2 separate regions of the Homo sapiens genome follow, and region 2 is linked to region 1. The links are contacts of gene promoters, found by promoter capture Hi-C in blood cells and fetal thymus (Javierre and others, 2016). All regions are on one chromosome and are shown on one strand. Each heading gives the region's core, a stretch centred on a gene start or on the middle of the fragment in contact. The rest is flanking DNA. Distances are from core to core; before and after follow the strand shown.

The links. The method cuts DNA at HindIII sites, captures the fragments that hold promoters and counts their contacts. A CHiCAGO score of 5 or more calls a contact.
Region 2: a contact is called between a fragment that was not itself captured here and the fragment with the promoter of FAM98B in region 1, in 3 of 17 cell types (naive CD8 T cells, total CD8 T cells and total CD4 T cells). The highest score is 7.6, in naive CD8 T cells.

What each region holds. Positions count from the first base shown.
Region 1 is chr15:38,451,931-38,455,982 of GRCh38, reverse strand. FAM98B (family with sequence similarity 98 member B) reads right to left here and starts at 1,856. Exons shown (of 8, transcript NM_173611.4): 1 at 1,751-1,856. The coding sequence starts at 1,821. RefSeq lists enhancers at 1,439-1,538, 1,599-1,708. The HindIII fragment of the contact is 3,660 bases long and covers 762-4,052 here.
Region 2 is chr15:39,616,659-39,620,710 of GRCh38, reverse strand. It overlaps FSIP1 (fibrous sheath interacting protein 1), which reads left to right. Exons shown (of 12, transcript NM_152597.5): 11 at 2,466-2,976. Among named protein-coding and RNA genes, the nearest start is that of THBS1-IT1, 33 kb to the right of the region's middle. RefSeq lists an enhancer at 2,178-3,377. The HindIII fragment of the contact is 1,245 bases long and covers 1,467-2,711 here.

The DNA of each region.
Region 1 (4,052 bases), core at 607-3,106:
GTAAATAACTACTTTTTTCACATCGTATTATCATAGGAGAATTCAAACTTCAAAATGTTGCCCTCATAGTTATTCCAGGAAAAACTAATTTTGGAGTGTGTAAACTGTTTTACTTTCCATGTTGAATAATCTGACTAATTTTCCTTGATAAAAATCAAGATTATAGCAATGAATTTTCTAAAACACTTATAATATGAACAATAAGTTCAAGAAATGAAGAAAGAAGAAAAGCACTGCCTTTTCCTTTTTCATAAACCATTTATGAGTTCCCAATATTCTTACCTGAAGTACTTGGGAGCTCAAACTGTTTGGAGCCTAAATAATTCTACTAAGTATTTTCAGTTCTTGTTTTGGTTCCTTCTTAACCAAGTTAAGTGAGAACTTCCAAGGGACTTCACAGAAGTAAAAATGCCCCCTAAATAATCAATGGCACTGTTCTTTCGTTTGACAAATATGTATTCACGATCTACTAAGTGCAAGACTCCGTAACCCTGGGTCACTGCAAAGTAGGTATTATCAGGGTTCAACTAAAGAAACAATTGATAGAGGGGCAAATGCAGTTTTAGAGAAGATAAAGTGGGGTGTGGGATTGGTTCAAGCTTCATAATAACGCTGCAAAGGCACAGCTTCCCCTATCAAGAAACAGCAGCACGTAGCAGGGCAAACAAATGTGCAGATGGCTCCAAGCTCTTTATTTAATGTGCACTGTATGACTCAACTATCTGGTCCTATGCTTACTGCTGTGGACTCTTCTCTAAGCTTTTCTTCATTCATTTACTCATTCATTCAACCACTATTTACTGTAAAAGACTCCGTTCTAGTGTGTTGCTGGGAAAACATCGGTGAATAAAATATGCAAAGCATCAGTTTTCCAGGAGCTGACTTGGGGAGGAGGAGGAATAAAACGAGGGAGAAGCAGAGTTCAAGAGACAAATGAATGGGCAGGACATGATAATTTGGGATGGGGACAAGAGCTGTGTGGAAAAAAACAGGATGAGGTTGAGGGGGAGATTACGAACCACCACACTTGTTAAGTATTAACATTACTCCCACCTCCACCCTGAGTTCTCACAGCACTTACCATTCTGCACTGTAAATACCAGCCGGCAGCAGACTTGCAGCCTGCGCGACTATGTAAGCCAAGAGTAATCTGAAAAACTATCCTTTTCCCTTGCCTAGGGGAAATTTACAAACGTAAATATGTGTAAATTAATATACAAGCTAATATACACGTTGACGAACGGACGAAATGGTTGAAAGAACGAACTCGCAATGAACTACAACACTTTCTCCGGTCAAAGTAAAAGCCATTCGCTCCAGAGCCCCAAGTAAGCCACAAGTTGTACATTGTAGGAGACAACAGTCCTCAACAGCAGCTCAGGTTCCAGCACCTCCCTCCGGGCGCCAGAACTACGTCAACACAAATATCACCTGCGGGCGCGAGCTAGCCCAGAAAACCGGTGCTAGAAGGGCCGCTCCGCGCCACCCGGCGGATTCCTGCAACAGAGTTTCGAGGCAAGAAGTTTCGAAGAGGGGGCCACGAACCCCAGCTCTCCGGCCCTGCTCCACCCCCCAAATAGATTTCTCTCCCGCCTCCCGCTTAACTCCGTCGGCGCCGGAGGGATCGAGGCAGGGAAGGAGGCCTACACATGGCCGCCCAGGCCCACAGAGGCCCAAGGGAAGTAGGCTAAGCAGCCAGGCCAAGGAGAGGTTGCGTTTTCAGGGAAAAGGCGTCTCCAAAAGCACTCACCCCAGCGCCTCCAGTGTGTCCAGCACGTCTCCCTCCATCGTCGGTTGGGGACCCGGCTCCGGCCCTCTCATGGTCCTTTGGCCCAGAGCTGTTCGGCGCTCTAAGTAGCCCGCCGGAAACTAGCGTCACCGCGCCAAGGTTCCGGTCCGGGTCTGGCCGGTAACTGCCTGAGAGCACAGCTGAAGAAGGGCGCAAAGGTTCCCAGCCCCGAGGCAATAAACACTTCATAGTGCCTAAAACCGCTGCGTGTAACGATAATAATTTTTTAAAAGAATAGTAGAAATAATAAATAATAGTAATAAAGAGTTCTCTGTGTTGGGACTTTTCTGTGTGTTCAAATAAATTTTAGCAAATATCGTGGTATCGGGTTGATCTCAACCTATCCGATTCCAGACCTTTTTAATAACAGAAATCTGAAATAAAATTATAATTATCTTCAGCTAAAATTAGTAACTAATATCACATGCCTACACATATAATTTTTAAATCAATATACACGACGATGCTTCAACTTGAAGGAAAAAATGAAGTAATTTATAACAAGGTAATATTTTTCTCCTTATGAAATGCGGAAGACCAATGAAGTGATCAGATGCTTGCATCTATCTATGTAGAATCCCCTCAACTGCATATTCAGATGATGTGCTTCATTGCTGACAAAGCATTAGTTGTATAAGCAACAAACATACCGCCAGCAAAGTAAGGTAGTTGATGTGGTTTTCCAAAATTGTGGCGAATTCTCTGTAAAGTTCCAAACAAACAAAACATAATATACCCTCTGTGTACTATCCATGAAGAATTCAATCTCTTATCTAAAGGATTTAAAAAATGTATTTTAGGGTTCATATGTAAAAGGTACTAAGAGTATAAGGTTAGATCATTATTAGCAGGCATGTCACCTACATGAATACTCTAGCAGAACTGTTGGAAATCCTGCATGAAGTATAACTATTGATCCCTTGTATGGACCTGTCCCTTCCATTGCAGACTACATAGCATTCGTAGCCCCAGTCCAATAAAGACCAGTAATGCTCTCGCCTTCCTAATTATGGTTACAAACAAAAAGCATACCCATAAATGTGTAAAACACTCAAAGGTAAGCTGTAGTAGTCCACTCTCATATTGCTATAAAGATATACCTGAGACTGGGTAATTTATAAAGAAAAGGGGTTTAATTGGCTCATGGTTCCACAGGCTGTACACGAAGCATGATGCTGGCATCTGCTCCACTCCTGGGGAGGCCTCAGGAAATGGACAGTTGTGGCAGAAGGGGAAGGGGGAGTGCAGCTATCACGTGGCCGGAGTAAGAGGAAGAGAGAGGGTGCAGGGAGGCAGGGAGGTGCCACACACTTTTTTTTTTTTTTTCAGTCTCGCACTGTCGCCCAGGCTAGAGTGCAGTGGCATGATCTCAGCTCACTGCAAACTCCGCCTCCCGGGTTCACGCGATTCTCCTGCCTCAGCCTCCCGAGTAGCTGGGATTACAGGCGCCCACCACCACACCCGGCTAATTTTTGTATTTTTAGTAGAGACGGGGTTTCACCAGGTTGGTCAGGCTGGTCTCGAACTCCTGACCTCGTGATCTGCCACACACTTTTAAAAAACCAGATCTCATGATAAACTCACTCACTATACAGTGCCAAGGCAGGAATGGTGTCAAACCATTCAAGAGAACTCTGCCCTCATGATCCAATCACCTCCCACCAGGTCCCTCCTCCAACATTGGGGATTATAATTTAACATGAGATTTGGGCACAGACACAGATCCTAACCATATCATAAACTCAACCATACATTTGTATAATGACTATTATTACTGTATATTTTAGTGTTGTACAAGGCTTAAGCGTAAAATTACTTGCAGTTTAATGTATCTGAATTCATCTCCAAATAAGGGAGAGGAGAATGTATATTAGTGGTTACTGCCTCTTGTCAGAGTTGGGGTGTCATAGAAGGTACTAGTCTTAGTACTCTTGGCAAAAAGTCTCTGTAAAAATCAAATAGAAATGAGGTAACTGTTCTTTATTATTATTGATCTTAAGTGTTCTGCTGCTGGTTTTCCTAAAAAATCTAAATAAATGAATAACAAAAGTTATGCACAGAAAAAGAACTAAAAACAAACAAAAAAGCATGACTGGCCTAGCATGGTGGCTCGCATCTGTAATCCCAGCACTTTGGGAGGCTGAGGTGGGAGGATCACTTGAGTCCAGGAGTTTGAGACCAGCCTGGGCAGCAAAGTGAGACCATATCTCTACAACAAATTTAAAAATTAGTCAGGTATGGTGGTATGCACTTGTAGTCCTAG
Region 2 (4,052 bases), core at 840-3,339, 1.2 Mb before region 1:
CTGAGACACGAGACTCGCTTGAACCCAGGAAGCAGAGGTTGCAGTGAGCCACGATTGCGCCACTGCACTCCAGCCTGCGCGACAGAGCAAGACTCCATGTCAAAAAAAAAAGAATACATTTAAATTACTTTTATTTTTATATTTAATTTTAACTTTTGTTATAGTAATAAAGAAAAAATTGTGTTAAAATGTTTTAAATAAAAATGGCAGCCCCTTGCCTCAGCCTTCCCTACCCCTTGATATTTTCTCCAGTTAACTGCTTTTAAATCTTTTGTGTTTTTCCTAATTTTACCTCTATATTATTTATTAATAACTTACTTTCTTAATTGATTAGTTTTAGACATTATATATTGGGTTGCTGTAATGGTAGGCAATAATTTAACTAATAAAGTGCAAACACCCCTTGTTTCTCGTCACATTTCCCCAAAATAGTTAAGTCACAATTTTTGCTTACCTTAGTCATCAGTATTTATATTATCATTGACTGTGTAAATATTATTCACAGCAGAAGCAATTATTAGCCTATGGCATCCTTTCTCATGTAACTTTTTGTTTGTCCTAGACTTCATAATTATCTTAGTTTCTTTTGCCTAATTTTCTGTGTATATGTCACTGCTTTTCCTTTTTTTTGTAAAACTTTTTGTTTTCCCCAGAGTTCATAATTGCTTTGATTTTCCTTCTGCTTCATTTTCTGTGTATTTAGCCAAATACATCATCAGAACTGCCAAACATCTATCATATCAATATTACTTTTGGAAATGGTCAAGCATATTGGATAATCTACCAATCCTCCCTCCTACCCTTTTTTCCCTAGAGACCTCCTCCTGCTCTAATATGGACTGATTTTTTTTCTAGTGTCTAAAAATTTCATCATAATAAGGCTTTGATGAGGATGTTTGGTAAGGATGACACTCAGCGGGCTCTTTCTAAATCGTAGGGAATTGTCTACACATTATATGTAATTTTACATAAGCAAAGTTTGAAAGTGTGTTTTAGGTATCTAATGTCATAGAAGGACTTCCTTCATTTTCTACTTGACTAGGTTTCCATAGTAGGGTGGAGATAATGCTCCTGATTCTGGATACAGATGGATAAAATACTATATCTGGATTCCTGAAATGCCTAGTGACTAAAAGTAGAATTTGCTAATACATAATTCTAATCCTATTTCTTGCCATATATATTAACCTTAGGGTCAGTCACCTGAATTTTGAATTCCAAATCTCAAATCCTATTTCTTGACATGTATATTAACCTTAGGGTCAGTCACCTGAATTTTGAATTCCAAATAATTACTAAGAATATATTTCCAGACAATTTCTTATTATCCTCATACTCATAGTGACACTTGCCACTGTAAAAACTAGTTTTAATATAGGTAAGTTAAACATAATTTTAAACAATATTTTTTAAACATGGCACAAAATTGTTTTACATATTAGTATTTATTAGTTGCATTAGAAGCTTTACCTAATAGTGGAGAATTAACTATACTAGTATCAGTAATAGCTTTTTATTTCAGTACTTTACATATGCAGAATATTTAGTTATTTTTTACTATGTACCTTCAGAGTAGGCCAATAACATTATTTTACTTTGCTGAAGTAGAAATTAAAGTCATTGAAATTCATGATTAAGTTTTCTTATGGGGACTTCTTGTTCTCAGATAATTCATCCCCCTGTAAAGGAGGATTAGTCTTTTCCTAGATAATCCACATGTAAACCATGGAAGACACTGATTTTTTGGGGAAGTAGACATTTTTTTTTCAGTGTGTTTCACTATATTTTAATCTCATTCCTTTTTGAGATTGTTGCAACTCAAATGTTATGGTATTCAGCTGAAGTCTTGTGGGACATGGCTCTCTACTTTCATTTGATTTTTAAAAATTTATTTCCTGAGAATATTGCTGAAAGAAAAAAAATGTTTTTAAATATTTAAGGTCTTGGTTGAAACACTTAGCCCTGGTAACCTTTACAAGCAGAGATTAAGTATGCATGATCAAATCATTCTCCCCAAATACACCGCCTCTGGAATGCCCCTGGCCTCTGCCTAGACCTGTAGCTTTGCAGCAACGACACATTGCAGGATGCACCACCCTTCACCCTTCCTTTTCTGTCTTCAGCAGTATTGTCCACTGATAGTTGTGGACAGACATGGGAGTGCTGAATCCCCAGAGGTAGGGGTAGTCTGCCTTGTATGCCAATTTTTTTCCCAGTAAGGAATTGGATGGTGGTGGGATTCATGCTGAGGGATGGGTGGGGTCAGAGAAACACCAACCAAAGATTTTGCCAGGATTATGACATTTCCCCTACAGTTTTGGATACTTTACAATGAATTATTTTTCTATTTTTATGTGTTGTGTAAGGGGTTACTTGCATTTATATTTGTATTACTGGATGCCTACCAAAAATAAATGTGTTTACTCAGTCAACTGACTATGTAATCTTTTGGTTTGTTTCATCAGTTAGAGTCCACATCATGTCTCTCTGAAGAACAGTTAAAGTGTCTTCTGGATGAATGCATACTTAAACAAAAATCCATCATTAAACTTTCTTCAGAAAGAAAAAAGGAAGACATTGAGGACGTAACACCTGTGTTCCCCCAGCTTTCCAGGTCCATCATCTCTAAATTGCTAAATGAATCAGAAACAAAGGTCCAGAAAACTGAGGTAGAAGATGCAGATATGCTTGAGAGTGAAGAATGTGAAGCTTCTAAAGGCTACTATCTCACTAAAGCCTTGACTGGACATAACATGTCAGAAGCTCTTGTCACTGAAGCAGAGAATATGAAATGCCTTCAATTTTCCAAGGACGTTATTATTAGTGACACAAAAGACTATTTTATGTCGAAGACTCTTGGCATTGGGAGACTGAAAAGGCCCTCCTTCTTAGATGATCCACTGTATGGTATCAGTGTGAGCCTTTCATCAGAAGACCAACATCTGAAACTCAGTTCTCCAGAGAATACAATAGCAGGTGAGGCTTGGCGAACATGTGTTTTGGTAAATAATTCTTAAAAGCACCTCAATATAAAGGTATTATGGTTTAAATTAGAGTCGGGTAAGAAGGTATGTTTGTAAGTCACAGGTAGCGTCAATAAGAGTATGCAAACATAAAACCTATTTCCCAATGCTCTTATGAAATCAAAGTTGAGGTTAGTACTCTATGAAATACGTTATTCTTGATGGTAATTAATTGTGTCATCCAGAAAATAATGTTGGTTTCACAGGAAAAGAGAAATTAGTTTGAATGGAGAGAAATACTTTGAATAGATTTGCTTAGTATTTCAACTTCAAACTTTAGTATTTTCAAACTTTAGTGATGAAAATTTGTTCTAAGGAATGAATTTAAAATGTAAAACTTGTAACTCATTGTGGTTATATTAGTTTCTGTATGCAAACCTCCTCTCCTGAGCCACTCCTATGTTCTCAGGTGTTTCGTCACGATCTAGTGTTTCATCTTGCAATGGTCATGGTACAGGATACAACAATAACTAGTTTTCGACACAAACAAATATTCAATTATTTATGTTAGAAATCTGTGTAACAATTGGTGAATCTATTTAAATAGATTCAATTTTTACCTCTATTGTAGATTACTCTAAAATATATTGGCTATTACATTTCTATCTATTAATCTATTCCTTATTAAATCTATAATCCATTAACTCTGAACTGAGTCAGATTTCGGTTTTGACTTCCATTTCCTTAGTCACCCAGGAGCAAAATCTGAGTCATCACTGAATTACTTCTCTTTCTTGCTTCCCACTTCCAGTGTTCAGGTGTTGTTTGTTCTATTCCTGCGGTGTCTCTCATGCCCATCCCTTCCTTTCTCTTCCTACAACTTCAACTGGACCAATGCCATAACCCTTCTCCCAGACCTCCCTGCCTCAAGTCTCTCTTCTCTTCCTACCATTGTTGACAACCACTAAACGAATTTCCTTAAAGCACAGCTTTGATAACCACACTTCCTTCTATGGCTCTCCAATGCCTGTTGATCAAAATCAGAATTCCTTAACTTGTTCAGTGTCTCCATGATCTGACCTGAAGTTC